Regions from separate parts of the Homo sapiens genome. Here regions 2 and 3 are each linked to region 1. The links are contacts of gene promoters, found by promoter capture Hi-C in human tissues and cell types (Jung and others, 2019). All regions are on one chromosome and are shown on one strand. Each heading gives the region's core, a stretch centred on a gene start or on the middle of the fragment in contact. The rest is flanking DNA. Distances are from core to core; before and after follow the strand shown. Region 1 holds the start of ZFP90 (ZFP90 zinc finger protein). Region 2 overlaps TANGO6 (transport and golgi organization 6 homolog). Region 3 overlaps CDH1 (cadherin 1).

Region 1 (3,194 bases), core at 372-2,871:
GGCATGATGTATTGTATGCTTAATTCACTATAAACTGCTCTTTTAAAGGACATTACTAAGTTGGTGTTTTTATCTTTTAAATTTTTTTTTTTTTTTTTTTTTTGCAGAGACGGAGTCTCACTATGTTGCCCAGGCTGGTCTCAAATTCCTGGGCTTAAACGATCCTATTGCCTCAGCTTCCCAAAGTGCTGGACTTACAGGTGTGACCCACTGTACCTGGCAACTTGGTATTTTTATTTGAATTGATCTTGATGTCTCACACACCTAGCAACTACAATCTGTCATTTTCCCTTAATTCTAAAGAGAATGTAGATTCAAAGATACAGATACCATCTGGATCTTGATGTATTTTCACCAATATGTAAATCAATGGATAACCTTAGAGTTGTGACGCTTCTAGAAAATGCCCCCTCTGCCACAAGAATAAATGGGTTCACGAATCAGCCTCACATTAAGGTGAAGGCTGGACTTCTGGCGGTGGGGAGTGAGTTGCTCTATTACATTTTTGTTAAAGCAGAAAAGGACAGACACAAAAAGCTCTGGGAGAATCAGCCCTGGTTTTATTTTTGGTTGTTTTTTATTTTGTTTTGTTTTTGCCTCCTTGCCCAAGAAAGCCCATCTCCAGCCTCTTCCTAGACATGTTCTAACCAGGCTTCTACGGCCCCTTACGGACTCTCTATGGGCCCTGGGTCAGAAGCTGGGGCTCCTCTCTCCACACTTGCCGACAGTCACTTCCTCCTCTACAGTGTTCCATCCTGTGACCCCACTCTCTCCATTTCTTATTGACAAGAGTTCAAAAAACTGGCGTGGCATTCAGGACTCTCAAAACTGACACTTCCCAACGCATCCAATCTCAACTCCTCCCACAAGATCGCACCACACTGGCCCTCTCTACCCCACAGAGCAGCCTCCCCTTTGGGAATCCAGCTCCCCAAAGCCTGGGGTTTTCCATGGCCAGGAGGCTCCGATCGAGCCAAGCAAGTAAGGGAGTCGCCAGGCAGAGAACAATGACTGCTCCAAACACCCTTGGGAGATGGGATGGATAGATGGATGGGATGCCCAGGAGGTTAGGAACGCGTTGCTCACCTGGGGCGCGGCGGTCGGAGGCCTCGGGGCCATTCCTGCCTCGCCAGGGCCCGGCTCCGGGGCAGGAGCTGGGGAGAAAGGACAGGGCCCACTCACCCCGCTGCAACACCGACCCCACCCCGCCCCGCCCCGCCCCACCTCCGCCCCTAAACCACATCTCCAGGGGAGATGGTGGCGAGGACCGTGGAACCAGCCCGGGCCTGCCGCTCCCCATCCCCGAAATGAAAGGCTCAGCGGCCTCCCGGACACCCCCCTCCGGCCACGCCCAGTCCCCTTCGCAGGGTGGTGGGCGAGGCCCGGCTGACACCCGCCAAACCCAGGAGGGGTCCCGCCCAGACCCGCGCACTCAGAATCACCGCCTCTGGGGGGCTCCGGATTTCGCGACCTCCGGCCCACCCAGAGCCTCGGGCAGCTCCTCCCGCCCCCGCCGAAGCCTCGGTTATCTCCAATTCTGATCTGCGGAGGGGCTGCCCAAAGGGGCCTCAGCCGCACCGGGGTCGGACAATGGCCGCAGCGGTGGGGCAGAACTGGAAGTGCGCCTGCGCACTCGGAGCCTCGCTCCTGCAACCCCGGGTCCACGCCGGGCGCGCGAACTACACTTCCCAGAGGCCCGCGCGCGCAGGCCCCGCCTAGGCGGCTTCCGAAGGCGCGTTAGGGACCCTTGCGAGGGCCGAGGGAGGCGGCCAGTGTGGCTCGAGTGTGCGTGTCCCTGTATTCCAGTCACTGTCCGCCTCCTCTTTGCAAGGGGCTTGTTGCTAGCTGGGGAATCGGCCGGGAAAGACCCTGGTTTCGGGGAGCAATCGTACGCCCCTTTCGACGAGGCTGACGATAAAAACGCAAACATGTCAACAAGATAATGTCAGGTCCTGACTTCAGCGGTAAGAGTGACACAGGAAGGGAGTGAGACAGCGTCAGAGGGTGGGGCATTTACATCTTCTTCAAAAGGCAATTTTCCATTTCTCATTTTAGAGAAAAAAGAAACTTCGGACAAATCCGTGGCCTCCTGAGCAATGTGCAAAGGCAGATCTACTGCCGTGTTATTTCATTACTTCGTATCCCCTTACGCAGGATTTTGTTTGGGACAAGCAAACAATGATGGAAATTTTCTTTTTTTTTTTTGAGACACAGTTTCGCTCTTGTTGCCTAGGTTGGAGTGCAATGGCGCGATTTTGGCTCACCGCAGCCTCCGCCTCCTGGGTTCAAGCGATTCTCCCGCCTCAGCCTCCCGAGTAGCTGGGATTACAGGCATGCGATGCGTCACCAGGCCCGTCTAATTTTGTATATTTAGTAGAGACAGGTTTTCTCCATGTTGGTCATGCTGGTCTCGAACTCGCCTCGGCCTCCCAAAGTGCTGGGATTACAGGCATGGGCAACCGCGCCCGGCCCGATGGAAATTTTCAACACAAAGATAGGTCAACTTTTAGATACAGCTATTACGTTTATGTAATTATGTCTTATATATCACAGACATTCAGGCTACATTTCCTAGATTTCAGCTTGATTTCTTAACATTAGAGCATTGCATACCAACATGGTAGAAAATGACTGCAACGAAATGTTCCTGATGTCACACTGCTTTATCAAAAATATGAACATTCAAAAATAAATGCTTTATGCCGGGTGCGGTGGCTCAAGCCTGTGATCCCAGCACTTTGGGAGGCTGAGGCTGGCGGATCACCTGAGGTCAGGAGTTCGAGACCAGCCTGACCAACATGGAGATAGCTCGTCTCTACTAAAAATACAAAATTAGCCAGGCTTGGTGGCGCATGCCTGTAATCCCAGCTACTCAGAAAGCTGAGGCAGGAGAATCGCTTGAATCTGGGAGGCAGAGGTTGTGGTGAGCCGAGATTGCACCATTGCACTCCAACCTGGGCAACAACAGCAAAACTCCATCTCAAAAAAAACAAAACAAAAAAGGGAGAAAATTTCCATCACTGTTGGCTTGTCCCAAACACAAAATCCTGCGCAAGGGGCTAACAAGTAATGAAATAACACGTCAATAGCACAGGGAGGCTGAGGAGGGAGGAGCCCAGGAATTAAAAGACCAGCTTGGGCAACATGGCAAAACCCTGTCTCTACAAAAAATACAAACATTAACTGGTTGCAAT
Region 2 (3,194 bases), core at 288-2,787, 390 kb before region 1:
CCATGTCTGCTTCTGGACCTTTTGGGAAGGGTGCCTTATTCTCTACATCCTCTCTAGATTTGGAGCCCACAAGTTAAAGGGGATGTGGAGAACAACAAAGAACCATAAAAAGAGAAATAAAGTTACTGCAAAAAATTTTTTGATAAGAAAATATTTAATACCCTGAGTTCTTTTAGCTTAACGAGAGAGCAAAGGTGCATATAGACAGTAGTTGAGGCTGGGCGTGGTGGCTCACGCCTGTAATCCCAGCACTTTGGAAGGCCAAGGTGGGTGGATCACTGGAGGTCAGGAGTTCGAGTCCAGCCTGACTAACATGGTGAAACCTTGTCTCTACTAAAAATATAAAAAATTAGCTGGGCGTGGTGGCGGGCACCTGTAATCCCAGCTACTTGGGAGGCTGAGGCAGGAGAATCACTTGAACCCGGGAGGCAGAGGTTGCAGTGAGCTGAGATCACACCACCGCACTCCAGCCTGGGTGACAGAGCGAGACTCTGTCTCAAAAAAAAAAAAAAAAAAGACAGTAGCCGACTAACATAAAAGGTTAATGTGATAAGAGTTCATGTGTGAGTCATTCTTTACCTCCTTGAATTAGAGGAAATACGATTTAATCTACAGAATATGTAAACATTAATAAAAACTTCCTCATCATTATGAGACACTGAAACTCTATAGGGACTCTTTGGAAACCCTTCAGGAATATTATTATTATGACTTAAAGTGTCCTAGCTAGGAGGCAGGAAGACGGACAAAATGACCAGTAGTCTCCTGGCCCTAGGACTTTAGAGATTTTGTGCAAATAAACATGATACAGTCTCTGGTCCACATACTTAAAGTCCTTTAACCAGGACTGACTTACCCTGAATTGCAGATAGATATACAAAAGTGTCTTCATGTTCCAAGTTTTCCAAGAATATCTGGAACCACAAAATACAGCAGTGATAAGATTTACAAAGAACAAGGAAGATTTAAGAGGCTCCCTTATCAGCAGCTCAAAGGAGTAAATGCTTCGCTTCTTGTTTTTCTTGGGTAGAAACTGGTCTGACAGAGTTTTGTGGGGGAAATGGCATATATGCTTAAGTCTCATTTTTATAACCATTAAAAAAGTATAGAGACTGGGGGAGATACTTGTATTCTTCCAGCAGTAGTCCTGGAAACCGATGGAAGAACAATCCTCAACATTTTTCCATGACAGCCATGGTGAATAACATTCTCACATATGGCATGACAGACTACGGGGTGTGACACACAAGAGACAAGGTTTGGGGTTATGTGCAATGGATGGCACATTTGCTGCAATTTGATCCTTTTCTCTTGTACTCACAAAGCATATGGAAGTGCAAGTGAGATAGAGATGTTATTATTGAGATAACTTTGAATCTGTTCTAATTTATTTTTGAAAATCTTGTAAATTTCAGCACTTTAATTGATATTAGTAACAAATTACTCTCAAAATATCTTACAATTTAGGAACCTATCAGGGGTATCAACTACAGTGAGTACAGCTTATCTGGAAGATATTACATGATATGTTAGGTTTAGGCCCCAACATGAGAGCCAGAGAAAGGAAGACGGAAGTGTCTGCTCCATATATAATGCTGTGTTCTTCGTTGGCACAGTAATTCTTGACATCAACTTGATGCTGCTGGTCTCTACATGTGAAGTATGTACGGAGAGCCTAAAATTACCCCAGTTAGGAAGACGGCCAGTTTTGAAGGTAGGGAATCTTTTATGGAGTAAGCAAGGGAAGCTTAATTTAGGGTAATGGCCATGGAAATAAAGAGGATAAGATACATTTGAAAGACTTCTTTGAAAAAAGAATTGACAGGACTTGGTGACCAATTATGTACAGCAGAAGAAGGTTTAATTAAGCTAAAAAAAATTCCAAGATGTTCATTGAATTCACCTTCAAATAGGTGTATAAAAGGATATTTAAGGCCAGGCGCGGTGGCTCATGCCTGTAATCCCAGCACTTTGGGAGGCCGAGGCAGGTGAATCACTTGATGTGAGGAGTTCAACACCAGCTTGGCTAACATGGTGAAACCTCATCTCAACTAAACGTACAAAAATTAGCTGGGTGTGTTGGTGGGCACCTGTAATCCCAGCTACTTGGGAGGCTGAGGCAGAAGAATCACTTGAACCCAGGAGGTGGAAATTGCAGTGAGCTGAGATCGCACCACTGCACTCCAGCCTGGGCGACGGAGCGAGACCCTGTCTCAAAAAAACAAAACAAAACAAAACAAAAAACAGCTATTTCACCACGATGAAGGGAGAGAAGAGGGGAGGAGACCCAGTTTTGCCCAACGCCCCACTAAAGATGCCCAGAGAAAACAGGTGGCTTATCTGGGCTGGGTCACAGTGTTGAAGCAGACCTATTTATCACAAAAGGTACTTTCCCATCTCTGGGAATTTGTTCAAGCTATCCCACCCCTCTTTCATCTGCTCAAACTTTACTAGTTTGTTATGGCCATATTAAGGCCTACATCCTCCAGAAGATTTCAACTTTCTCTTTTTCCTGACTGCCCACAGCATTTCTTGCATGCAAAAATTTTGAAGGATGGGTGTGGTGGCTCACGCCTGTAATCCCAGCACTTTGGGAGGCCGAGGCAGGTGGATCACGAGGTCAGGAGATCGAGACCATCCTGGCTAACATGGTGCCCGTCTCTACTAAAAATACAAAAAATTAGCCGGGGGTGGTGGCAGACACCTGTAGTCCCAGCTACTCGGGAGGCTGAGGCAGGAGAATGGTGTGAACCCAGAAGGCGGAGCTTGCAGTGAGCCGAGATTGCACCACTGCACTCCAGCCTGGGGGACAGAGCGAGATTCCATCTCAAAAAAAAAAAAAAAAAAAAAAAATTGGCACTCAGTTCATATTCATTTGAGGAGTTTAAGTCTTTCCTGTGTCTAAATAAATCTTTCCTGTGTCTAAGTGTTGCCTCCTCACAAAATTCACAAATTTCTGGAGGGTGGTCCAGAACAGCACTTGACACATAGTCCAGGCTCCAAAAATACTTGAGTTGAATGAATGCCCCACCCTGTGCCCATGTGTCTTTACAGTGTGTTCTACTCACCTTGAGAAGCTTCTCTTGCATCTCAAGGGCTTTTGCTTCTCTCTGCTCTATCCAGTGGGAAAGAGTACGCAGGGCAGCAGCCCGTGTTGGAATTTGAGGGTCATAAGCTGACAAAAGAACCTCTTG
Region 3 (3,194 bases), core at 343-2,842, 260 kb before region 1:
AATGGTGGTTAAGCCCTACCCTTTGAGAAGTGACAGTATGACGAGGAGCCCCAACCTGAATTCCAGGTGCTCATAAGACTCATTATCTCCCCATGCAACCTGATCCCCTGGGCTGATTATAGGAAATTGTAGGAAAGATTGAAAGGTTCTTCAGCTCCAGAAAGGCTCTGGGAAGCTCACTGTCACGCTGGCAAGGGCTGGGTTGTCTCTGAGCCCAGCAAGTGGGAGGAAAGAAGAATGGCAAAATGTTGAAACTGGAGGATCAGAATACGGGGACTGGGTATATTTCAACATGCCCATAAAAAAAGCTAACAAAAATAAAGCTAACAAGGGTCTAAGTGTTCTTTAACCCAGTATGCCCACCTTTCATAAACTTATTTGGTGACTTGGTGTAAAAACCAAATCCCAACAAAAGAAGCTAAGACCCCACTCCCCACTACTGGCCATCTCCATGTGGGAAAGTCTTTTTTTTTTTTGAGACAGAGTGTCACTCTGTCACCCAGGCTGGAGTGCAATGGTGCAATCTGGGCTCACTGCAACCTCTGCCTCCCAGATTCAAGCAATTCTCCTGCTTCAGCCTCCCGAGTAGCGGGGATTACAGGTGCACACCACCACGCCCAGCTAATTTTTGTATTTTTAGTAGAGACAAGGTTTCACCATGTTGGCCAGGCTGGTCTCGAACTCCTGACCTCAAGTGATCTGCCCGCCTCTGCCTCCCAAACTGCTGGGATTATAGGTGTGAGCCACTGTGCCCAGCTGGGAAAGTCTTTTCATTACAATATCATCACCATCATCAAAAACTGCAGCCTCAACTAAGCTTCAATTAGCTTTTATGAACTATTTTATTCAGATTTTATTTAATTTTATTTGTGTGCTTTTTGAGACAGGTCTCTGTCACCTAGGGTGGAATGCAGTGGTGCAAACACTGCTCACTGCAGCCTTGGCTTTCGGGGCTCAAGCAATCCTCCTGCTTCAGCCTCCTGAGTAGCTGGGGCTACAGGTACATGCCACCATGCCTGGCTAATTTTATTTATTGTAGAGATGGGGTCTGACTACGTTGCCCAGGCTGCTCACAAACTCCTGGGCTCAAGCCATCTTCCCGCTTTGGCCTCCCAAAGTGCTGGGATTACAGAAGTGAATGACTGAGCCCAGCCTCATTTTAATTTTTTGAGAAAGGGTTTTACTCTGTCACCCAGGCTAAAGTGCAGTGGCACAAACGCTAGCTCACCGCAGCCTCAGCTTCCTGGGCTCAAACCATCCTCCCACCTCATCCTCCAGAGTAGCTGAGACTACAGGTGTACTCCACCGCAGCAAATTTTTAATTATTGTTTGTAGGGACAGGGTCTCGCTATGATGCCAAGCCTGGTCATGAACTTCTGACCTCAGGTGATCCACCTGCCTCAGCCTCCCAAAGTTCTGGGATTACAGGCATGAGCCATCATGCTTGGCCTATTTTATTAGTATTTTAAACATGTGTAGAATATTAATGTGCCATGCTCTATTTTAAGCATGTGCTGCCACACCCAGCTAATTTTTGTATTTTTTGTATTTCAGCAAAAAATGTAATTTTATGTTTACAGGACTAGATGGGGTTTTGCCACGTTGCCCAGGCTGGTCTTGAACTCCTGGCCTCAAGCGATCCACCAACCTCAGCCTCCCAAAGTGCTGGGATTACAGATACAAGTATTGTGCCTGGCCAGGAGGCAGTTTGAAAACAACAACAACATATTTTCCTTATATATCCTTGTATTACTTGGCCTGTTACAATTAGAATGAATTCTTTTTTTTTTCATGACAAAAACTAGTAAGAATGACTTTTAAAAAGTGTTTTTAATACTCTGTCATCCCTGCATGCTGCTATTAAACCTACGGTGCCCCACTTTCTAGCCTACTGGGCAAAAGTAGCTTTCAAGAGAGGACCCCAAGAGAGATGACTGATGTTCAAATACAAATGAAACCCAAGTTCATGAAAAGCTTTTGGTCCTGGGGCAGGCTCTGAGCATTCAGCAACATTCCTTGCTTGAAATTGCCATCATGCCACACGGAACAGTCCCACTTTGACGATCCCGTTTCTTCTCCCACGCCCGCCTGGTCCCATAACTGGAATGTGAGTGGGTAGAAACAAGACAGTCTCAAAAGCTTCTATATTATTTTCAGACGATGTTGGGATTTAAGGACAGGGCCAGCTATGGAAGGCAGCAAACCATAGTTGAGTTGTTTGGTAACCAGTGGGATAACCTAGTATCTTAGACGTAACTAGTTGGAAGCAGTGTTTTGCCCACCCTGCATACAAAGGGGCACATTATGGATTGCCTCCCTCTCATCAGAACACATTTCCCACAGCGAACACCAAAGAATACTGCATTTAGCAATTCTTTTTTTTTTGTTTTTAAAGACAGAGTCTCGCACTGTCACCCGGGCTGGAGTGCCATGGCAGGATCTCAACTCACTGCAACCTCCACCTCCCGGGTTCAAGCCATTCTCCTGCCCCAGCCTCCCGAGTAGCTGGGATTACAGGTGCCTGCCACCACGCCCGGCTAATCTTTTGTATTTTTAGTAGAGACGGGGTTTCACTATGTTGGCCAGGATAACCTCGAACTCCTGACCTTGTGATCCGCCTGCCTTGGCCGCCCAAAGTGCTGGGATTACAGGCATAAGCCACCGCACCCGGCCTGCATTTAGCTTTATTCAAAGACCATTTGAACTTGAGAGCTCAGCCTCAGTTACACATAAAAACTGGAGGACAAGATCAGAGAACTGGCTGGGCATGGTGGCTCATGCCTGTAATCCCAGCACTTTGGGAGGCCGAGCCAGGTGGATCACCTGAGGTCAGGAGTTCAAGACCAGCCTGGTCAACATGGTGAAACCCCGTCTCTACTGAAAATACAAAAAATTAGCCAGGCATGGTGGCGGGCACCTGTAATCCCAGCTACTCAGAAGGCCAGGACAGGAGAATTGCTCGAACACAGGAGGCAGAGGTTGCAGTGAGCAGAGATTGCACCATTGCGCTCCAGTGTAGGTGACAGAGCAAAAAAGACTCCATCTCAAAAACAAACAAACAAACAAAAAAATCAGAGAACTAGCCAGGCATGGTGGCTCATACCTGTAATCTCACCATTTTGCGAAGCCAAGGCAGGAGGATCACTTGAGCCCAGGAGTTTGAGACTAGCCTGGGCAACATAGTAAGACCCCAT

What was found. The method cuts DNA at HindIII sites, captures the fragments that hold promoters and counts their contacts. A contact is called where the count stands out against the background at its distance.
Region 2: a contact is called between a fragment that was not itself captured here and the fragment with the promoter of ZFP90 in region 1, in 6 of the 25 tissues and cell types used here (H1 embryonic stem cells, heart left ventricle, liver and 3 more).
Region 3: a contact is called between a fragment that was not itself captured here and the fragment with the promoter of ZFP90 in region 1, in 14 of the 25 tissues and cell types used here (H1 embryonic stem cells, IMR-90 fibroblasts, adrenal gland and 11 more).

The regions. Positions count from the first base shown.
Region 1 is chr16:68,537,718-68,540,911 of GRCh38, reverse strand. ZFP90 (ZFP90 zinc finger protein) reads right to left here and starts at 1,621. Exons shown (of 5, transcript NM_001305203.2): 1 at 1,433-1,621; 2 at 1,087-1,154. The coding sequence starts at 1,119. The HindIII fragment of the contact is 20,432 bases long and covers 1-3,194 here.
Region 2 is chr16:68,927,958-68,931,151 of GRCh38, reverse strand. TANGO6 (transport and golgi organization 6 homolog) reads right to left here. Exons shown (of 18, transcript NM_024562.2): 13 at 3,069-3,194; 14 at 857-914. Among named protein-coding and RNA genes, the nearest start is that of TANGO6, 86 kb to the right of the region's middle. The HindIII fragment of the contact is 4,152 bases long and covers 1-3,194 here.
Region 3 is chr16:68,795,361-68,798,554 of GRCh38, reverse strand. The region is part of intron 2 of CDH1 (cadherin 1); the gene reads right to left. Among named protein-coding and RNA genes, the nearest start is that of TANGO6, 47 kb to the left of the region's middle. RefSeq lists enhancers at 2,349-2,849, 2,850-3,194. The HindIII fragment of the contact is 4,503 bases long and covers 1-3,194 here.